2 separate regions of the Homo sapiens genome follow, and region 1 is linked to region 2. Evidence: promoter capture Hi-C in 16 types of primary human blood cells and fetal thymus (Javierre and others, 2016). All regions are on one chromosome and are shown on one strand. The core of a region is centred on a gene start or on the middle of the fragment in contact, and the rest is flanking DNA. Distances in the headings are between cores, read along the strand shown. Region 1 overlaps PSMD14 (proteasome 26S subunit, non-ATPase 14). Region 2 holds the start of DPP4 (dipeptidyl peptidase 4).

Region 1 (4,600 bases), core at 404-2,903, 750 kb after region 2:
ACAATAATCTCATACCTTTTAGTAATTTCAAGTTTGTAAGCATTTTAACAAAGAAAATCTAAAAATACATTTAAAATTTAAAGCTGTTACCTTATAAATTTTAATAGTACTAATAAAACATCTTTATTTCTGCTTCAAACTACTGGTAAGTTAAACTGAAGTGGAGGACTGAGGACAAATTTAATTATTGTAGCCTATCACTATTCAAATATTAACTTTTTTTTTTTTTGAGACATAGTCTCACTCTGTCACCCAGGCTGGAGTGCAGTGGTACTACCTTGGCTCACTGCAACCTCCACCTCCTGGGTTCAAGTGATTCTCCTGCTTCAGCCTCCTGAGTAGCTGGGATTACAGATGTGCACCACGACACCCAGGTGATTTTTGTACTTTTAGTAGAGATGGGGTTTCCCCATGTTGGCCAGGCTGGTCCTGAACTCCTAGCCTTATGTCATCTGCCCCCTCGGTCTCCCAAAGGGCTGAGATTGCAGGCATGAGCCACCAGGCCTGGCCAATATTAACATTTTAAAATGTGATATTAAAAAAAATAAAACTTAGTTGTTTTGTAGGAATGGACACCGTAATGAGAAACAGGAAAAGACAGCATGATAAAAACTAATGGAAAAGAAAGGTTTAAGATAGTAAGTGTGGAATATTGAAGTTTAGTTAAAAGAGAACTAAAAATAGGCCAATAGACTTGGCAGTTTAAAAAATTCCAGTACAGTAATACAGGAGTTGGCCAGAATGCATTCTCATGTGAGTGAACAGAGGTAATTAAGTAGATTATGGAGTTTAAGCTATTATTTCAGGAATTCTAGAAATAAATAGAAGAAAAGGTTTAATGGCAGTATGCAGTAGAGTTTTGGTTTTTGGATACAGGAGACTTAAACATCTTTGTAGGCAGAGAAAGGGGTCAATGGAGATCTGCAGTGTGTCAAGAGAACGAGATCCAAGAACAAGGAAGGAATAGCCTTGGAAAAGAGAAAAGTCACCTCCTATTTAGAGAAAATTAAGAAACTAGAATGAATGGGGACTTTGATTATTTACAAGTTCCTTTTTTACCTACTAGCCCTACTACAACTCCCAAATAAAACAACTAAGACCAAGTGGCCTCAAAAACAATGAAATATCAGTATCAACTGTGATTATAATACTGATATTCCTATATTATTACTGTGAATTCCTCCATTAAAAAAACATGACCAGGCCGGGCGCAATGGTTCACATCTGTAATCCAAGCACTTTGGGAGGCTGCAGTGGGCAGATCACTTGAGGTCAGGAGTTCAAGACCAGCCCGGCCAACTTGGTGAAACCCCACCTCTACTAAAAATAAAAAAATTAGCTGGGCGTGGAGGCTCATGCCTGTAATCCCAGCTACTTGCGAGGCTGAGGCAGGAGAATCACTTGAATCCAGGAGGGCGAGACTGCAGTGAGCTGAGATCATACCACTGTACTCCAGACTGGGCAACAAAGCAAGTCTCTGACTCAAAATAATAATAATAACAATAACATGACCAATTAGCATATAGAGCAAAGCCCAAAGACCTTTTTACTACTACTGGGTTATATTAAAGGCACTGGGACTCAAGGTGGGGTCATGTCTCTTGGAAACAACATAAAAATCAGTATCATAGTACAAGAAAAATTCAAATGAAATACTGAATTGTTTCTACAAATAATGAAGTCAAGGCTGAAAACAAGTCTTTGTTGCGTAATAATCTGGTCTTTATCCTGAGTTTCTGGCACAGAGCCTCAAAAACCCTTGGAGTTTCTTTTGTTATGCTAACACTGTGACTTAGTGCACACCCCTAGATAGCTTGCAGATGAGGGCTGATCAACATAAAGACCAACACGGTAATTAGAGGGCTAAGACTTTGAGCCAGGCCCATTTGGGAAGGGAGGATGGAGATTTGAATTTTGAGTTTGATCACCCAATGATTTAATCAATCAAGCTCATGTATGCCGAGTCCCAATAAAAACTCGGAAACCAAAGCTACACCAGGTGGAGTTCCCTGGCTGGTAAACTCACTGATGTGCAGGGAGGGTGACATGCCCTAATTCCATGAAGAGAGGGCACAGGAGCTCTGCATCTCCTCCCAGACCCCATCCTGTGTGTCTTCATTTCACTGGTCCTCCTAATCTGTATTTCTGGATAACAAAATTGTAATAATAAGCACAGCACTTTCTTGAGTTTTGTCAGTTGTTCTAGTGAATTATCAAACCTGAGGAGGTTGTGAGGACCTCCAAATTTATACTCAGGTTAAAGTGTCAGTCCAAAGTGTGGATGGCTTGGGGACACATGAAGTATAGCTGGCATCTGAAGTAAGGGTAGTTCTGTGGAGAAGTGAGCCTTTAACTTGCAGAGTCTGACAGTAACCGCCAGGTTTGTGTCAATTGGGAGTGAAACAAAATGTCTTCAAGCCAGTAAAGTAGCAACTGTTTGGACACTGATATAAAAAAAAATATGTCTTGGACATTTCGTTCATCAAAATTGGGTTATTCGTATAGATCATGATTTAAGGTGGCCTATTCACTCATAAAATGTCCATGGTTCTTGTTCTTCAATCAAGGAAATAAAATAACCTTAAGGAACTCTCAATCATATGAGGCCTTTACCTGTTCTGCTCCTGTCTACTGCCACATTTTAAGAGGGCCATCTACAAACTTACCAGCAAGTGACCTGCTCCTATTTGGGAGGGAATTCTGCCTTTTCCATTAAATGGTAAGATAACATTTCCCACTGATTTTTGGAGAGAAGGGCCAATTTGTGTCTCCTTTTTTACTACTATTGGTGCCTATGCCTTATCTAATGAAAAGATAGCTATTATCAATCCAAAGATCTTTGACTTCTTATTAAAAATAAATAATAGTCTGGGCACAGTGGCTCACGCCTGTAATCCCAGCACTTTGGGAGGCCGAGGCAGGTGGATCACTTGAGGTCAGGAGTTCAAGACCAGCATGGCCAACATGGTGAAACATAGTCTCTACTATAAATTCAAAAATCGGCTGGGCGTGGTGGTGAACGCCTGTAATCCCAGCTACTTGGGAGGCTGAGGCAGAAGAATCACTTGAACCCAGGAGGCAGAGGGTACAGTGAACCGAGATCATGCCATTGCATTCCAGCCTGGGCGACAGAGTGAGACTCCATCTCAAAAAAAAATTATAATAAATAAATAAATAATAAACAACATTCTTATTAGGCAAAAAAATACACTTAACGTTTCATGTTACAAAAGTAACATCATAAGTATTTGTCAAATTATTCCTATAACAAGATAAAATAAAATTTTAGAGAAAAAGAAAATTACACCTAGTATAGGATAAGGGAGATACCATAAAAATAAGAGTTCCACAAATTAGAGTTTATCATCTAATTGAGATGAAATGATTCTTAAGCAGATTTTTAACTTCAAAAAAGAGTACAAACTAAGGACACAATGGCTGATTAATCAGAAACCAATAAGGTTACTGAAAAAACATTAAGTTTTTCACTTGATATAAAGCTTTGAAGTCGCCATTGACATATAATGTAGCTCAATTTGTGGTCAGTAAAACCATTATTTCATGTCCAGGGGTTTTCCAGCATGGATTTCCAAGATGGGTAATTTATTGTATCTATGCTTAAGGAAAGTTATTTTTATATTTAAATTTGATACAACTTTCCTTAAGAATTCTAAGGCAACATCTTCACCTATAATTTGCAGGTAAATCTGCACTATCTACATACCACCTCTGCTCACTTCTCACATTTTCACATGCCTGAACACTATTACTACTAATTTCAGAATAAATTAGAGAAATTCTAGAAGCTCTCTAGAATGTTTACAAAAGAATGGAAACAGGTTCAGGATCAAGTTCAAAGAGGCTTAGGCCTCTTGAGAGAATGAGTTATACAGGTGTTATAAAAATGAAGAATCATGAAGAAATAGGCTGACAACAAAGAAACATGAGAAATCATCAAAACTAACAAAAGTAAACGAAAAACAACTGAAATCCATCCAAGAATGCAATACAGAATCACAAAAAGATTTCAACTTTATAAAAGTCATAAACCATGATAGACCTAATCAAACAGTTCTTATGAAAGTTCTTCTAAAACACTGAAAATTTCATGAAGTCTGAAACAAAAACTGCTTCTTATAGTAAACACAGATTACTTTGAAGAAAGATGAAGTCACTGATAGCAGTAAGGAAATGTGGGAAAGCTGGAAACTAAAGAGATTTTAAAAGGGACTATAAAAATATTTCTAATATTTGGTCATAAAACAATACATTGCATATATAAAAGTCTTAGGAAGAGAAATACACATAGTCATTTCTTTTGTTAATTAGTATTAACTCAATGTATGACTGCACAGATCGAAAGTGTCGAACTCACAAGAGGCACAAATTCTTGATCTGAAAGCAGATAGACTATCCTGAGGCAGAAATCTAGAGGTCATTTGCCCAACAGCAAATGGAACAAGATAAACAATATTAAAACAACTGAAAGCTTATTTATTTTTTAAAAAGATTATAAAAGAAACCATTTATACCAAATTTAAAGGAGAGAGATTACTTATTAATCCATCTATATATCATAATTACTAGCAGAAATTTACCA
Region 2 (5,117 bases), core at 1,496-3,995:
CAGAAGTGGGGGAAGAATAATTTAGTATCCTTATCTAGTGTTTGATTATCAATGCTGGAGAAAAATATCTGTAAGAGTGTTTATACAGTACACTTCAGTTTTCTTGATGATCTCCCTTTCCTATATGATGATTTGCTTAAATATCCATATTAAGTATAGTCTCAAGGTAAGGTAGGCAGCCTGAGAGTCTAGAGGTCTTTAGTTTTAAAGGAATCTAGCCAGTGAACATAATTCTTATTACTAGACTGCCACAAGGAAGAAATTAACTTACCCTGTATATCAGGGTACAAAAAATTCAATGATGTGCCTAAATAAGTTATAAAGATTTAGGCCAATCATAAGCTAACAGCAGTTTCAGGTAGAGGTGCATGCCTAATGTTAATTAGTGTAGATTCCATTTACTGCATTCTTTTGATCACTGAAATAAAAGCTATATAAGATTCAAAAAAATTGATTAACTCTGTAAAGACCCTATATTCAAATAATGTCACACTCTGAAGTCCTAAAGGTTGGGATTCTAATATATCTTTTGGAGGGACACAATTCAATCCATAACATCAAGTAACTGCACAACCTAGCTACCCTAATAAACTGAGTGTTGCCTAATCTACCACATGATAAAATTGGGCATTTGCAGGAGCATGCTATTATTAAGCGAAAATTGTATCTATATGATAAAGGAGATAAGCCCACCAGGTCCACAAGGCACAAGAAACTCAGACTAGCAGAAAACTTAGACTCTATGATGCCTGCTCCCATTGACTCAATGTCTCTCCCTCAGTGCACACCTATAGCTTCACAAGGAGTTTCCTACAACTAGGCAACAGATGAGGGAAAGGAGTCAATGTTATGCAAAGTAAGCTGGCACTAGCAATAAGTAGATGGCTGCTGCATCAGAGTCCCTCCCAGGGATGTCCTGAAACACAGCAGAAAGGGAAATCTTACTGACAAACAGAACTTTGAGCAGAACATCTGCTTTTCTATTTTGCAAGAAAAAAGAGATGGCCCAATGTAAGATCTACACTGACTCATCAGTGGTGGCTAATGTGTTGGCCAGCTGCTACCTTAAGGATTTGGAAAAAACAAGATTGAAAGACTGGTGACACAGAGGTCAAGGTGGGGGAGGCATGTGAGAGAGTCTCTTGAAATGGGCACAGGGTGTGAAGATATTTGCGTCTCATGGAGTGCCCTCCAGAGAACAAATTGACCTGTCCCGTAGATGTCAGCCAGCCTCCTGCCAGCTTCCTTGGGGCTTGCTGAATGTACAATGAGTGCCATGGTGCTGGCATGGAGATGAAGCACAGGCTTAACTCTCCAGACTTCCTTCACCGAGGCTGATGTGGCTTACCAATGCTGAGTGAGCAAAATGCTGAGAGTGAAGGGCAGCACTGAGCCCCCTGTGGCACCATTCCCCGTAGTCCGTGTTAAATGGCCTCTCTTCACAGCATCAGTTCACAGGGTCCAGTAACACCATTGACTCATCTTCCTCAGCAGTTGGAAGAGGGAGGAGGAGAGTTAGTTTCAGCCTCTGGAGTTGGGGGTGAGTGAGGATACTGATGTATCACAAGCAACTAGTGGGCAAGGGGGAAAAGATGACTGAGTTCAAAAGCAATGCCTGGATTGGAAATAAAAGATGGAAAATTGCATTAATTCATAATCATGTGGTAATGCCCCATCGGACTCTGCATTCTTAATCTTTTACCTCTACTGACAGAGAGGCTTTGCTTTTCAGCTGCTGTGAACAAGCTGAAGAGGCCTTATCCTCTTATCTGCAAGAGTGGAAGTAATCACAGGGGGCCCTAAAGGCAAATGTTTACCTGTGTATTTTATCGTGAAAGTGCCAAGGGTCCAGACCTCACCTCTCTTGTCCCACTTTATCTCCAGTACCTAGAAGGGAGGCTGGCACATTGTAACCACTCAAACATCTGTGGATGACTGGAATAAATGGGAGGATGTAGGAATGAATGAACGAATGAATAATCCTTTAGGGAACAATAGAGAGCTGGGGGAGGGAGAAGCCATACCTGATCTTTTATTCTTCTCCAAAACCCTTGAAAAGACTATGAGAGGCCGCATAGAGTAGCCATTAAGACCTTGAACTCTTAATTTAGGATCTACAACTTCCTAGCTGAATGGCTTGGCCAAGTTATTTATTCTCTGTGTACAGTCTTCCTTCCTGTAAAACAAACACAGTAAATGCTTAGAGCAGCACCTGGGAAAAAGTCAAGTTCCACATAAGTGTTACTGTCATTATTTTTGTCATCTTGATGAGTGTGTAAGCCTGCAAGACAATCGGGAAATTCCCTAGGGAGGGTGAATCCAGATACTCAGCTTCCAAGGGCCATTCAAGAGGGAACAATCACCTTTTCTCTTTGCCTTTCATACTGCTTTAGACCCCTCACTGCTTCCTAACATAACTTTCACTGGCAAGAGACGGAGTCCTGGGTTTCAGTTCCAGTTGCCTGCGGTGGGCTGTGTGAGTTTGCCAAAGTCCCCTGCCCTCTCTGGGTCTCGGTTCCCTCGCCTGTCCACGTGAGGTTGGAGGAGCTGAACGCCGACGTCATTTTTAGCTAAGAGGGAGCAGGGTCCCCGAGTCGCCGGCCCAGGGTCTGCGCATCCGAGGCCGCGCGCCCTTTCCCCTCCCCCACGGCTCCTCCGGGCCCCGCACTCTGCGCCCCGGCTGCCGCCCAGCGCCCTACACCGCCCTCAGGGGGCCCTCGCGGGCTCCCCCCGGCCGGGATGCCAGTGCCCCGCGCCACGCGCGCCTGCTCCCGCGCCGCCTGCCCTGCAGCCTGCCCGCGGCGCCTTTATACCCAGCGGGCTCGGCGCTCACTAATGTTTAACTCGGGGCCGAAACTTGCCAGCGGCGAGTGACTCCACCGCCCGGAGCAGCGGTGCAGGACGCGCGTCTCCGCCGCCCGCGGTGACTTCTGCCTGCGCTCCTTCTCTGAACGCTCACTTCCGAGGAGACGCCGACGATGAAGGTGAGTGCCGCGCCACGTACGTCCCCGGGGCGAGCTGTGGGGACCTCTTCGCCAAACTCCCCAAATGGCCCAAAAGCTGGCGAAACCGGACCAGGGACTCCCCTTAGGCGGAAGCCCCAAGGCCACCCTCTGACAGGTGAAGGGACGTCCCAGAGCTCTCGCTTAGCTTTCGGACCCTGGCTTCTGCTAGGACCCTGGCGTCGAGCTTTGAATGTCCCGGAGAGCCACTCACAGAACGCACGCCCGAACCCGGGCAGGGGTAGAGAAACCAACGCTAATGTGCTCTGAAGGCACAAGTTCAAGGGCACCCGCCTTAGAGAACTCCAACTGGCGCACTCCAGACGCCACCCCCACCCCCAGCCCGCGGTCTCCCTCTTCTAACGCACTCCCACCTGCAAATCCTGCTGCCTCTGGAGCAGCCCCGACCCTCCTACGGAAACTGGGGCCACACGCTTCCCTCTAATTGGACTTGATCTGCTCGGCTTGCAGACACCGTGGAAGGTTCTTCTGGGACTGCTGGGTGCTGCTGCGCTTGTCACCATCATCACCGTGCCCGTGGTTCTGCTGAACAAAGGCAGTAAGTTTGAAACATTTGAAAAAGATAGGACAGTTGGAGCTCAGGTCAGGCTCCGTCTTACCACGCTAAGGGAAACGAGGGATTTTGCGTGGGGTTGGACCAGTGCCCCGAAGTGTAGCTGAGAAGGCTTCCCAGTTGTTGTTGCTGCTTGTAGAGCAGCAGCTGGATTCACTTCGCGGGGTCTTCAGTGTTTAGGCTGAAACTCTTGCGGCTTTCACGTCTTGTTATGTATAATAAATGCATGCTTCCTGAAATTAGGGAGAGTCGGGATTTTTAAAATTTCAATTTTAAATTTAATTTGTAAATTTTTAAATTTACATGTAATTTTTGAGAAAAGTTTTTGGGTGTGATCGAAAAAGGAAAAAAGGCAGTGTTTAAAGAGCCCAAAGACAGCAGTAAGGATATCTGAAATGGAAAGGAAAAATGAGAAAGCAAGCCCCAAAATACAGTTTTGAGAAATGATGTTCCACAGGGAACCCAGACTGTTTTCCCTCAAGGGTGGTGAGAATTCAGTTGGAGGGTGGGGAGGCAGGGAAGTAATTGACCAATTTAGCAGTATTGCAGAGCTAAATAATAAAGCTGGTATACACGATAATATTTAAGAAGGGTCTGGAATCAGTGATGTTTTGGTGGATTCTTTTATTTAAGGACTTTCATGTCTTTTTAGCTTGCCTAAATGTATAAAACACTCACATAATGGAATACTCACTGTAGGATGCAAGCAAGTGAGAACTACTAGTTTCAGTCTCCCCTGGCCTTACTTTCCTTTTAAACACTTGCTTTCATTTCAGCATTACACACTATAAATTAGTCAGCCAGTTAAAGCATTCTCTCTGGAAGATTTAGTCAACTGAGGAATGTATAGTCAGTGCTTGCATACTCAAGGAGTCTTATCTAGATTTTAGGATGACAGTTCAGAATTAGATTGTAGAGCTATGAAAACCATGCTTGCTGTGCAATTCAAGGCCAGGGCAAATGTGCCAAAGGTTAAATAACTGAATGGGTTGACCTACTGCTAATGAAATTTGAAGAAACCAGTGGTTGCTACTATTTTATACCATTAAATGACAGTCCACTTAAGCTTGACTCTTGTGGACTGTTAAAATATAACTATTTTCATAAAGCAACTCTTTGTGTAAACCATACATGCAAAGCCTTGTGGGAGAAGAATGTGCTAGTCATACAATTGATAAATATAGGGCTTACAGGCTTACATTATGTTCCAGGCACCGCGTTAGTTGCTGCAAATACAAAGATTAAATTTTGTAAATATAAATATAAAGGCCCTGACCTCAAGGACTGTATAAGCTAGTGGGAACATGCAAACAAATATGACTTGTTTTACATATATATGTGTGTATGTGTGTGTGTGGATACACACATATATAAATAGAAATAATCTGTATGTTTCTCTCCAAAACATCACTGAGGCATCACAGCATCGCTGGAAGTTTGAGTAAAACTGTAATTATCAGAACTTCCGTTAAAGCAAGTTGGAAGGAATACTGTACTTTGATAAGCCACTTGAGATGGCCAGTGAAAAGGCCTAGGGATCT

The links. The method cuts DNA at HindIII sites, captures the fragments that hold promoters and counts their contacts. A CHiCAGO score of 5 or more calls a contact.
Region 1: a fragment that was not itself captured here is called in contact with the fragment with the promoter of DPP4 in region 2 in 1 of 17 cell types (fetal thymus); the score reaches 5.3 in fetal thymus.

What each region holds. Positions count from the first base shown.
Region 1 is chr2:161,319,292-161,323,891 of GRCh38, reverse strand. The region is part of intron 3 of PSMD14 (proteasome 26S subunit, non-ATPase 14); the gene reads right to left. Among named protein-coding and RNA genes, the nearest start is that of PSMD14, 13 kb to the right of the region's middle. The HindIII fragment of the contact is 3,699 bases long and covers 1-3,502 here.
Region 2 is chr2:162,071,843-162,076,959 of GRCh38, reverse strand. It overlaps DPP4 (dipeptidyl peptidase 4), which reads left to right and starts at 2,745. Exons shown (of 26, transcript NM_001935.4): 1 at 2,745-2,984; 2 at 3,474-3,561. The coding sequence starts at 2,979. DPP4-DT (DPP4 divergent transcript) reads right to left here and starts at 2,103. Exons shown (of 3, transcript NR_147697.1): 1 at 2,025-2,103; 2 at 1,349-1,482. It also overlaps the pseudogene TIMM8AP1. RefSeq lists a promoter at 564-2,340, enhancers at 1,895-2,592, 3,027-3,226 and a silencer at 2,617-2,876. The HindIII fragment of the contact is 4,875 bases long and covers 1-4,644 here.